Linked DNA regions of Homo sapiens: region 2 is linked to region 1. The links are contacts of gene promoters, found by promoter capture Hi-C in blood cells and fetal thymus (Javierre and others, 2016). All regions are on one chromosome and are shown on one strand. Each heading gives the region's core, a stretch centred on a gene start or on the middle of the fragment in contact. The rest is flanking DNA. Distances are from core to core; before and after follow the strand shown. Region 1 holds the start of JPX (JPX transcript, XIST activator). Region 2 holds the start of HDAC8 (histone deacetylase 8).

Region 1 (6,279 bases), core at 39-2,538:
GTTTAATCTAGTGCATAATGAATACGTTACAAACAAATTAATTAAAACTAATAAGTCTGGACATGAAAGGCAGAACAAAAAAAAAATAAAGTTAGGCCCAAGAGGTTAGGCTGTTCCTAGGAAAGCTCTGAGGAGATGGAATCCATTTTGGCGCGACATGGTGTCAATAAAAACCCATTTAAATAAGGAAAAAGGAAAGAACGACCCATATATCCCTCCTAGGAGCTACCTTCTGCAACTTCCAAGCTTCGTCAGTAGAAGTTAGGCGATCAGCGAGAAAGAAATTATTCTCCGATATTTTGAAGAGACTGGAGAGAGAAAAATGGAATACAGGCCGGTTACTCCCCCGACTCAGGCCACGCGATCCCAAAGTGTGTAGCCTCGCTAACGGCCACTTCTCTAGCCAACGTGAGGCTCATCACTCACCACAATACTATTAACTGGCGAGTTTCTGGACTTTTGTTAGTGGACTCATACTTCGGACGCCTTGCAACCCCCGTAAGGACGCAGTGATTGCACTCCGTGCAAACGCCGCCATCTTAAGTCTTCCACTAGCCCTAGGGCATAGGCGGATGAAAGCCGGGGGTGGGCGTCACAGCCAAACAGGCCCGGCGCCCAGCCGTCGTGCACTACCTAAATGCCTCCGCCGGCAACATGCACCAGCCGTTGCCGTGCCCCAGCCGTTGCCGTGCCGCAGCCGTTGCCGTGCCGCAGCCGTTGCCGTGGACCCTCCCCCAGTTTCCTGACCTGTTGCACTTCCTCTCACAGCCTTTATCTCTTTTGAAATTCCCTTTTCCTTTTTCTTTCTCTTCATTTCTTTTTTCCTTTCCCAACCCAAATTTCTTTTAGCTTTGCCTCGACTCCTTTCTTTCTTCCCTATTTCCAGATCTCTCACTCTCATTAACTTTACCTCACAAGTATGATAGACAAAGCTGCCATTCACTTCTGTTATCTCACTAAGTCATTGCAACATCAGGTAAGCTGAGGACTGATTTTTTCCTGTTTTATAGATGACGAAATTAAGGCCCAAAGAGGTGACCCAATTTTCCAAAAGTGCTAGAATGAGCTAGAACCTACTTCTTTTCACTTTACTAAGCCCCGTGTTCCGATAGATGAGGGTGTATGTACTTCAACCAACTAATGGGAAAACAGAAACCAGAGGGTTTTGGCCTAGTCATACAGTGAGTCCGTCAATGGCAAAACTGGATTCAGAACAAGGTGCTTCCTTTAATTCTGTAAACAAAAGAGTCTTCATAAAAGAGTTGGTAGCCAGGTGTGGTGGCGCTTGCCTGTAATCTCAGTGTAATCCCAGCTACTTGGGAGGCTGAGGTGGGAGAATCGCTTGAACCCGGGAGGCGGAGGTTGCAGTGAGCTGAGATCGTGCTGCTGCATTCCAGCCTGGGCGACCGTGCCAGACTCCGTCTCAAAAAAAAAAAAAAAAAAAAAGAGTTGAGATGCTGCTCTTGAGCCTAAAAGTCCTTCCATCTTCCCTCTTCTTTTATTTATTTTTGTTTTATTTTTTTGAGACGGAGTCTTGCTCTGTCGCCCAGGCTGGAGTGCAGTGGCGCGATCTTGGCTCGGTGCTACCTCCGCCTCCTGGGTTCAAGCGATTCTCCAGCCTCAGCCTCCTAAGTAGCTGGGATTACAGGCATCTGCCACCATGTCCAGCTAATTTTTACTAGAGACGGGGGTCTCACCATCATGGCCAGGCTGGTCTTGCACTCCTGACCTCAAGTGATCCACCCGCCTCAGCCTCCCAAAGTGCTGGTATTATAGGCGTGAGCCACCGCACCCAGCCTCCCTCTTCTTTTAGATTCAGCTCTTTTAGATTCAGTCCTGACACTTCTAAGAGGCCTCTATATTTATCAAAACCTTTATCTCTGTTGTTCCCGCTCCATGAGGGAAAATACACTAGCTGGATACCAGCCCCAAAAGTATGAAAAAACCGAGGCCAAAACTTGTTTGTGAAGCATTATGTGTGAGTGGTGCAGGTTTCTGGGGGAAGGCTTGTGCTTCACCGGTAAGGAAAAGACACTTTAGAGGTCCTAATCCCTTTCCAAAGCTATAGTTTCTCTCTATGCACTAATGTTGTCTCTGGTTTTCTACGAGACCCCCACATAGAACACCTCTTATTCTATTCATTTGCATCATTACTTTTCTGTCTTTATTTTGATATCGTCACCCTCAAAAGGAAGGTAATGATACACAGTTGTATAAAACATCTGGGCATTGACATATGGACATTTTGGAGTAAAACACCAAAAACACCACATAAAACCAGTTACGTGTTCAAAGGTCAGTAATAGAGGTGGAGAGGTCTCTAAGCTTAAACTGTTTCATCTCCTAGGGTTTAGGCATATTTGAGCACATCTTGGAAATTTGTAGGACAGGCACCAAAAACCAATTGCAAAAGGAACTGTTGAGCTCCTAAGAAAGAACTAGTACTAAAAGAGTAGGGAATCAGATAGACAATGTAGGGTAAAAGAAGGATCAAGTCTGAATGTTGCAGAGGAGGCAAATATGACTGTAAATTCTGTCATATTTTCTTTTGGCAGTAGCACACCATGCATTTATTTTGGGGCAGGTACAAAACATCCCTCTGTAGTAATTTAATGGTAAGTAGAAAGGGGGATAAAAATGAGTGAAACCTGCCGGGCACGGTGGCTCATGCCTGTAATCCCAGCACTTTGGGAGGCCGAGGTGGGCGGATCACCTGAGATCAGGAGTTTGAGACCAGACTGGCCAACAATTACAGCAATACAAAAATTAGCTGGATGTGGCGGTGGGCACCTGCAATCCCAGCTACTCGAGAGGCTGAGGCGAGATAATCACTTGAATCCAGGAGGCGGAGGTTGCAGTGAGCCGAGATAGCGCCACTGCACTCCAGCCTGGGCGACAGAGCAAGACTCCGTCTCAAAAAAAAAAAAAATGAAATCTATTGCAGTTTTGTTCTGATGACTCTTGGGACTTTGTCTGTTTGGGAGGAAAATGACTTTTTATTTATTTATTTTTTTTATTTTTTTGAGACAGAGTCTCACTCTGTCACCCAGGCTGGAGTGCAGTGGCGCAAACTCGGCTCACTGCAACCTCTGCCTCTCCTCTCTCGGGTTCAAGCGATTCTCCTGTCTCAGCCTCCCATGTAGCTGGGACTACAGGCGCAGGCCCCCACACCTGGCTAATTTTTGTATTTTTAGTAGAGACGAGGTTTCACCGTATTGGTCAGGTTGGTCTCGAACTCCTGACCTCAGGTGATCCACCCGCCTTGGCCTCCCAAAGTGCTGGGATTACAGGCATGAGCCACCGTGCCTGGCTGAATTTTTTAAATACACATATAAAGAAATAATCAGCAGGAAGCATTATTCGAGAAATAGGCTTATAAAGCTGCCAGTCAATTTTTTTTTTTTAACAAATTGATGCACTGGTTTTATTTGGTAATGTTTCGAATTGAAAAGTGCTAGACCCAGAGACCCAGGGACAGAAAAGCTATATTAATTCACAGCCACGGTGCAAGCTTCATGCCCCTGCCTCCACTCACTCACATTTCCCCTAGTCTACCTGCCTCAATTCCAACTTAAGAAAAATGCCTCCAGAAAACACCAGAGACAGAGTTTGGTTGCCAGGTTACAATATTTCCTCTTGAAGACTGATCTTGGTAGCTTCCTGGACTACTGAACTAGCTAGTACCTATTTCATTCTCTGTGGAAACCCACTTTTCCTCTTACATAAGTAATTGTTCCAAAGGTAAGAAAGCTGCCTCCTGAAAGAATATAAAATCCAAATAGGTGAAAGGAGAGTTGGGATTTTACCATCATCCAGCCATATTTGGCAGGCACTTGCTTAGAAAGGGCTCTTATTTGGAAATTTTACAAACAAATTTACAAAGGCAATGACCCCTGGGACAATAGTTCATGTTATCTTTGCATTCACAATTTAAGACAAATAAATGAGTAACAGTCTTAACAGCTAAAATGATAGATGCTGAGTTACACTAGAACAAATTCATTTGAAACATGAGTTGGAACAAGAGTGAAACCATCTCAAAAATAAAATAAAATAAAATAAAAAAGTACAATTTGCGGTGGCATGTGGGAGAACAGATATAACAGAATTTATTCATTCATTAAGAACTTACATGTAAAGAATAAGACTACACAAGTGGGTGATGAATGCAATCCAGTATTAATCTTCAAGGAGATTACATTCAAATCGGAGAGGGGAAAAAGAAAAAGAATCGTAAGAAGTGTCTTTATCCAAGGCACTGTGCTAGGTACAAGGTAGAAATAGAAGTGAGAGTTGGGGCCGGGCACGCTGGCTCGCGCCCATAATCCCAGCACTTTGGGAGGCTGAGGGGGGCAGATCACTTGAGGTTAGGAGTTCGAGATCAGCCTGGCCAACGTGGTGAAACCCCGTCTCTACTAAAAATACGAAAATTAGCCAGGTGTGGTGGTGTGCGCCTGTAATTCCAGCTACTCAGAAGGCTGAGGCAAGAGAATTGCTCGAACCCAGGAGACAGAGGTTGCAGTGAGCCAAGATTGTGCCATTGCACTCCAGTCTGGGTGACAAAGCGAGACTCTGTGCCAAATAAATTAATAAATAATAAATAAATAAATAAATAAGGTAGAGTTGGGTATGGAGATGAATCTACCATGAATCTTAGCATTAGGGAATTTATTTTCTAGTAGGGAGAAATAAAATGTGAAGGTTGGGTAATTTTTTTTTATTAGGGGCTTAAGGGGATGAAAAAGTATTTCATACATAAATTTCAGCACCCAAAATAATTTATAAAGTTATACATTTTGCAAAGCACTGTACCAAGTGATGTAGGGAATGGGAAAAACAACAAGAAGGGAATTTATAAATGTAATGTGAGCCAATGAAGGCAATATATTAGAAAGAAGGATGTATCATGAGATGTAAAATCACGCCACTTAAACTATATATAAAGTTGACCAATCCTAAAGCTCCTTTTTAAGCTGAGCTATAATTCACATACCATAAAATTCACCCTTTCTAAGAGTACAAGTCAGTGGTTGTTGATATATTCACAGACTTGTGTAACTGTCACTACTATCTAATTTCAGAACATTTCCATTACAATAAGAAACCCCATACCCGGCCGAGTGTGTTGGCTCACACCTGTAATCCCAGCACTTTGGGAGGCCGAGGCGGGTGGATCACCTGAGGTCAGGAGTTCGAGACCAGCCTGACCAATATGGTGAAACCCCGTCTCTAGTAAAAATACAAAAATTAGCTGGGCGTGGTGGTGGGTGCCTGTAATCCCAGCTACTTGGGAGGTTGAGGCAGGAGAATCGCTTGAACCCGGGAGGCAGAGGTTGTAGTGAGCCGAGATCTTGCCACTGCACTCCAGCCTGAGCAACAGAGCAAGACTGCATTTCAAAAAAAAAAAAAAAAAAAGAAACCCCATACCCATTAGCAGTTACTACTCATTACCTCTTCACCCAATCAGCCCCTAGCAAACACCATTTTTTTGTCTCTATGGATTCGCTTCTTCTGAACATTTCATTTAAATGAAATCAACAGGTGACCTTTTGTGCCTGACTTCTTAGCACAATATTTTCAAGGTTCATGCATGTCGTAGCATATATCAGTGCATTTCTTTTTACGACTAAATAATATTCCATTGTATAAATATACAACATATTGCTTATCCATTCATCAAATGATATATATTTGGGTTGTTTCCATCTTTTGGCTATAATGAATAATGCTACTATGAACATTTATGCACAAGTTTTTGTGTCAACCCACGTTTGCAGATATCTTGGGTATATACCTAGGCGGGCAACTGCTGGGCAACACGGTAACTCTATGATGAACTCTTTGAGGAATTGTCAAAGGGTCTTCCAAGGCACTGCATCATTTTACATTTCTACCAGCAATATATGAGTGTTACAATTTCTCCACATTGTTGCCATACTTGTCATTTTAACTATAGCCAGCCTAATGGGTGTGAAGTAGTATCTCAAATGCTTTTGATGAGCATTTTCCCAGTAGCTAATGATGTAGAGCATCTTTTTATGTGCATATTGGCCTTTTATATATCCTCTTTGGATAAATATCTATTCAAATACTTGGCCTATTTTTCAATCAGGTTATTGGTCATTTATTGAGTTGTAGGAGTTTTACATTATCAGATATATGATTTGCAAATATTTTCTCCTATTTCGTAAGTTTTTTTCAGTTTCTTGATGCGTTCTTAAAGCACAAAAGTTTTTTATTTTCACTAAGTACAACTTACTTTTTCTTTTGTACCTTGTG
Region 2 (6,854 bases), core at 1,455-3,954, 1.4 Mb after region 1:
GTGTGTGTGTATCACTGCAATTGTTTAACCCACTAATTTCTGAAACACTTTTCAACACTTTTAAAATCAGAATCTATGTCTATTCTGCCCTACTGTATGAGTTCTTCCTCCCGATTGCCCTCTTTCTTATATTGCTACCTCTAGTCTTTTCTTTACCCAGAGTTTACATTTAAGAGTTTTCAGCAACCCTTTTCCATCTTCCTCCCTCTCACCAATATCCAAGTAATAAAAAAGTCCTGTTGAACCTACCCTGTACATTATTTCTCCTTTGTTCCCATTGCCCCCACCCTAGTTTAAAATCATTATCACTTCTTATTTGGACCATTGTGGCACTCTAACTGCCCCTAGCCTTTTAATGACTAATCTTTCCTACACACTGCTGCTATAGAAATCTTTTTTCCTTACTATTTCTGTCTAAATATGTTTTCCCATTTCCCACAGAATGTAGTCTATTCTCTTTAGCCTGGTATTCAATGTTCTTCATGATCTGGCCCTTTTAGCTAAACTCGACTAGAAATTTTCCCTTTTGTGTTACTGTTTATGCTGTTCATTCTAGTCAGCATGCCCTCTCCTGGCTCCCATCTTCACCAAGCAAAATCTTGCCCACCTCCTAAGACCCTCTCAAATGCCATCAAAGATGAATTCTAGTTACCATTTATTAAATGCCAGTTATTTAGTACTTAATGCTTATTTATTAAGTAGGCTAAGCATCCTACATTCATTGACTCTGCATTGCCTTTGGTTTCTTGTGTACTTGCCCCATCTTCTGTATAAGAATGCAAATTCTGGCTGGGCGCGGTGGCTCACACTTGTAATCCCAGCACTTTGGGAGGCCGAGGCGGGCGGATCACGAGGTCAGGAGATAGAGACCACGGTGAAACCCCGTCTCTACTAAAAATAAAAAAATTAGCTGGGCGTGGTGGCGGGCGCCTGTAGTCCCAGCTACTTGGACAGGCTGAGGCAGGAGAATGGCATGAACCCGGGAGGCGGAGCTTGCAGCGAGAGGAGATCGCGCCACGGCACTCCAGCCTGGGCGACAGAGCAAGACTCCTCTGTCTCAAAAAAAAAAAAAAAAAAAAAAAGAATGCAAATTCCTTGAGAGCAGAGATCACATCATAATTTACCTTTGAATCCTCAGCTGTACTGTACACTTAATATCAGATAAATGTTTGATGAATGAATGACTGCAGAGCTTTTAACTAGTTACTATGGGAAGACATAAATTAAAGAAACATAAGATCTTACATTCTAGTTACAGAGCACATCACCAAAACACCCCCAAGATTTTCAGAATAAGTATTGAAGGGATACAAAATGGAGGGTGAACAAAGTTATATCATAACACAAAGTCATCCTGGACGAATCAAGTTTATATAATAAAGGGAATGTTCAAAGGCTTCAGTGTCAGGCTGACCTAATTTTGAATTCCTACTTATCTGCTTGTTAAGTATGTGATTTTGAATGTTGTTTCTCTAAACTGCATCTGTAAAATGGGTGTATTGCAACCTCCTTTATAGGACTGTTGCAAGGATGAAATGAGATAATATGGCCAATGTGCATGTCACAATCTTCAATAAATGTTTAAAGTCTAAAAAGCAAGCCAGACTTTAAATATAGTAAGGATATTAGGTTGTCCCAGTGGTGTTAGTCAGTCAGTTTAGGTTGCCATGAGAATTAAGATCCTGAGCACTGGCCAGCTTGTATCAGATCATAGGGGCCTCCAGGAACCTCCAAATGCTGATGGTAATTCTAAAACCGCCTCAGATAGTCTTAAACTGGACCCTCACACCAAACCTAAAATATTTCCCTAATCTATGTTTAGCTGCAGAAACAAGAGGAGGTAGGAGGAGAAGAGCTGCAGTTTCCAAACACCACTGCTTGCAACCTTCCTACCACATGAATGTTCAAGGAGTTACATTTGACATCATTGCTTGATCGGAATCTACCAAGCAATTTCCACTGCACCAGCCAGTCTCTTGGGAAAGTACTATCAGATTTGCCAGAGTAAATTATTGAGATTGTTAACTCTCATGTGGACATGGATAGTTAATGATGAAAAGAAATGAACTATAAAATTGCATCACAGAATTTACTGTGTAAACTTTTCAAACCATTTGTGCCATTAAATAGCGCCCCCACCAAAAAAAAAAAAAAAAAAAAAAAGCCTATCCTTAGGATAGGCAGCTGATGTAGCTGGATGGTGGGGGCTCTAGGTGGCCACGTTCTATCTGTGTTTATATGGTTAAATGGATGAAATGGATGTGTTTGCAGATTGAAACAATTCATAAAGAGTTGAGGCTACTTTTTTTTTTTTTTTTTTTTGGTCTTAGCGCTGAAACTAAAAATCGCGGTTATTTTAGTGTTTAGCCCCGGCTCTTCCGTTGCTCAAACCTCCGGAAACTACATCTCCCAGCATGCTGTGAAACTGGTCTGACTTCATCTCAAATGGCCCCGTAGGGCAACAAGGATGGTTAGTTTTGACCCTACTTATTTGTGCCATAAAAACAATCGATCCTAATTGACAGCTATTTGGACTTTTACATCTGCCAAACCCTTTTCCTTGAACTGTGGTCACTAAATGAGGGGAGTCTGGTCTGGGAAGTCCCATCCATTCCTTCAATAGGATGGGGAGCGGTGATAGTGTCTCCGGCGATCTCAAGAATAGGAGGGAATGTTGACCAGGGAGCACCGCTGCGGCCGATCAGAGGAGCAGGAACTGGAACCCTGGCCGAGTCCGAAAAAAGCCAGATCTGGAAGGTGGCTGCGGAACGGTTTTAAGCGGAAGATGGAGGAGCCGGAGGAACCGGCGGACAGTGGGCAGTCGCTGGTCCCGGTTTATATCTATAGTCCCGAGTATGTCAGTATGTGTGACTCCCTGGCCAAGATCCCCAAACGGGTAAGGGAAGTCGGGATGAAAGACCATGGGCTTTGGGGGTGGGGGTGGGGGCGGTGGACGAAAGAGCGTTAGGAAGCGGAGAGGACACTGGGCTGGGGGAAATCTTCAGAAATTTCGAGTAGCTGTATCAGATACCTAAAGCTGTATCAGAAGGAAGTGTTCTCATATCGTTTCTGAGAGCGCAGCATGTCTCTTCGGGACGTCCAATGGACAGGTAGGAGTGGGGGAGGGGGTACGGAGGAGGGGAGAGGACGCAGTTTCCACTCATAGGGGACCGCTGAAGTCGTGGGAAAACAAGCTGCAGGGGGAAGGTGTTCCATCACCTGCCTAAGGCCCGGTAGCTTTCACCTTAGTGATTTTGATACTTTGTATCTGTATTGTCTAAAGTGTATTGTAACTGTTAACAGAAGGGAAGCCAGTTGAAACAAAATTAATCCGTTCCTTTGTTCAGGATGGTGAGATTGACGGGGATTTTGCTGAATTAAACTTTAAAGAGACTATTTCTGCTTTTCTTTTTTTTTTTTTACGCTGATGTTTTTAGGCCAGTATGGTGCATTCTTTGATTGAAGCATATGCACTGCATAAGCAGATGAGGTAAGTTGTCTTTCTTGAACATAGCCCTGAAGCTAGGTGTTCGTAGCCTTAATATCCTGCTTCACAGTGGGGCAAGGAAAAGAATGGTCTTTTGAAAAAATTATTTTAGCTTTCTGTGAAAGTATTCACAGTGTTTGTAATCTGCCTGTAATCCCAAGAAAGCTCTTGAAGAATTAAGAAAACTTGGGGGGCCGAGAGCATGGCTCACGCCTGTAATCCCAGCACTTTGGGAGGCCTAGGTGGGTGGATCGCCTGAGGTCAGTAATTTGAGACCAGCCTGCCCAACATGGCAAAACCCCGTCTCTACTAAAAATACAAAAAAATTAGCCGGACGTGGTAGCGGGCGCCTGTAATCCCAGCTACTCGGGAGGCTGAGGCAGGAGAATCGCTTGAACCCCGGAGGTGAAGGTTGCAGTGAGCCGAGATTGCACCATTGCACTGCAGCCTGGGCAACAAGAGTGAAACTCCGTCTCAAAAAAAAAAAAAAAAAAAAAAAAAAAAAAGAAAGAAAGAAAGAAAAAGAAAAGAAAACTTGGGACAGGGGAGTGGAAAGTGCAGGAAGCAGTTAAGGTTCATTAGAAATACAGCTCGATTGCTTGGTTAAGTATCCCAGGGGTAGGTGCAGTGCATTGTGGAGATTTTGAGTACATTTGGGTATTAAAACCTGTCTCATACAAAAAGGTGTTCAGCTAGGAGGTGTTCCATTTTTCTTTTGATTTCGTTTCATTCTAAGCCAGATTTGAGGGTGTGAGTTCAACCTAAGACTTTTAGACAACCCACCACCAGCACCAAACTTTAATGGGTGAGGCTGGAGACAGATCAAGACCAAAGAAGGCCGGGCGTGGTGGCTCACGCCTGTAATCCTAGTACTTTGGGAGGCTGAGGCAGGCGGATCATGAGCTCAGGAGATCAAGACCATCCTGGCTAACACGGTGAAACCCCGTCTCTACTAAAAATACAAAAAATTAGCCGGGCGTGGTGGCAGGCGCCTGTAGTCCCAGCTACTCGGGAGGCTGAGGCAGGAGAATGGTGTGAACCCGAGAGGCGGAGCTTGCAGTGAGCCGAGATTGCGCCACTGCACCCCAGCCTGGGTGACAGAGTGAGACTCCGTCTCAAAAAACAAACAAACAAAAAAGACCAAAGAAAACTGCCAAGACTGCGCCAGAACTCAAGAGAGAGCTAACTGTTTCTTCCAAAAACATGAACTTGCTGTTTATTGCCATTTCTGTATTTGATGTCGTTATAAGAGCAAATATAACCCTGCCACATATAGGATTACTTATGACAATTTCTGGCCAAATAGGTGAGTGCTCATACCAACTAGTGTGCTATGCTTCATTTATCTCCCAGAAGGTAGTGTAATAATAGGCTTTCAGATTTTATCCTTATTATTAACAAAATCATTTTGTACCTTTTAAAGGGAATTTTTAAGCCTTTTTTTTTTTTTTTTGATGGAGTCTTGCTTTGTCGCGCAGGCTGGAGTGCAGTGGCGCGATCTCGGCTCATTGCAACCTCCGCCTCCCAGGTTCAAGCGATTCTCCTGCCTCAGCCTCCCGAGTAGCTGGGACTACAGGCACGTGTCACCACACCCATTTTAAGCCATTTTTTAACCCATATGGTTTGGTTAACATAGTAACTATATGCCTTCCATTAAAGTTATTTAACATTTCAAAAAATTATTTTATGACAAACAAGATATCAAAGCAAAGCAAAACTGTCCAGTTTGCTTACTGTTAAATAGGGAGGTTTTCAGTAAGTGTTTTTTAACATTTACCAAAATAAATGGAAGGGTACTAGAAGAGGGAGCTTTTAGGACTGGGAAATACGGTCCGAGATATTACAAAATTTTTATTTTAATGGGTAGATTTTTCACCTCTGGTGGTATAGATTTGTCTTCTTTAAGAAGAAGCAAGAATTCTTGGGTCTTGGCTATGTATTTCACTTTTGAGGCCAAACCACAGGATTTCTTCCAGCTACCTTGGTGATAGTAGTAGCCTGTATAGTCGTATTCATTCATCGTAAACTCATGGCTGTGTTCCCATTCAGCAGACATTTAAAACCACTGCTGCCTCCCTGTGGCCCAGGTCAGGGCTCCTTCAACTTGAATGTGTATATGAATCACCTTAAAATGTGTCATCTTGTTTAAAAATCATCATGTTAAAATACAAATTCTGACTCAGGTCTGAGGCAAGTCTGAAGTTCTGCATTTCTAACAAGCACCCAGGGAATGCTGATGCTCCTGGTCTATGGACCACCCTTTAAGTGGCAAGGGCTAGAGAACAGTAGTGGCAGCTGTGGGGTCAAGAAGAGGAAATGGGGAATAGGCAGCTAGAGGTTAGATGTGGTAAGGCCTCTTATTGGGTTAGCTCCCTTTATTCCCTCACTCGCTTCTATTTGTCATTTTTCGTGAGGAGTAGGTTGAGAGGTTCTGAGTGAAGTCCGGTTCCAACCATTTTGCCCCTTCTCGCCTCGCTCTCAGAGGCAGATAGGAGGGTCCAAGTCTAGAAACATTACATTTTGGGTTGCCCATTTTTTATCTGTTAATAGAATGATAGTTATCCACCAAGCATTTTTGTATGTGTTATCCTTTTATCTTCACATAAGTCCCATAAAGTTCCCCATTTTACAAATAAGAAAACTGAACTACAGAACAGTTGACTTATCTGAGGTTATAGAGCTAGTAAGTACAGAATTAGGACAGGAACCCAATTCTCTGACTCCAAATCTGACTCCAAATTCAAAATGCATGATAACATAGCTGCCTATTAAAATAAAGATATAGCTGAAAGGATTAGATAGCCCAATTCGCAACTGGTTCAAATGAAAATATCCCTGCCTACTAGTTTGTCCTGAAAGTTGTAACTCACAGGGTAAAGTCTGTCTGATACCTGATTATTTGTTTAACTTGAATATAATTACTTTTGTTTACTTACCTATAAACTCAAGGGAAAATCTATCTTCTTGCCCCTTATTAATAGAGTCACTACTGTAGATGTGAGGCAGTGAAGACCGCACAGTGCAGTGGAAGAACAGAATATGTTTATTACTCCAGCCTATTGGAACCAGAAGTTGAGACGTATTTTCTTCTCAGACTGCTGGCTTCTGTTTCTAGCTTCTGGCATACGCTGGGTCTGACTCACTGACCTCTCTTTGTTCTCTCTGTTATTATTAGGATAGTTAAGCCTAAAGTGGCCTCCATGGAGGAGATGGCCACCTTCCACACTGATGCTTATCTGCAGCATCTCCAGAAGGTCAGCCAAGAGGGCGATGATGATCATCCGGACTCCATAGAATATGGGCTAGGTAAAGTCATTACCAGGCAGTGATGGGAGATGGACAGACTAATTTTTTTTATAACTTGTAT

The links. The method cuts DNA at HindIII sites, captures the fragments that hold promoters and counts their contacts. A CHiCAGO score of 5 or more calls a contact.
Region 2: the fragment with the promoter of HDAC8 here is called in contact with a fragment that was not itself captured in region 1 in 1 of 17 cell types (total B cells); the score reaches 5.3 in total B cells.

What each region holds. Positions count from the first base shown.
Region 1 is chrX:73,938,613-73,944,891 of GRCh38, reverse strand. JPX (JPX transcript, XIST activator) reads right to left here and starts at 568. Exons shown (of 5, transcript NR_024582.1): 1 at 427-568; 2 at 230-308. RefSeq lists an enhancer at 444-543. The HindIII fragment of the contact is 2,079 bases long and covers 249-2,327 here.
Region 2 is chrX:72,568,693-72,575,546 of GRCh38, reverse strand. It overlaps HDAC8 (histone deacetylase 8), which reads left to right and starts at 2,704. Exons shown (of 11, transcript NM_018486.3): 1 at 2,704-2,896; 2 at 3,438-3,490; 3 at 6,663-6,793. The coding sequence starts at 2,786. RefSeq lists an enhancer at 2,612-2,741. The HindIII fragment of the contact is 11,149 bases long and covers 1-6,854 here.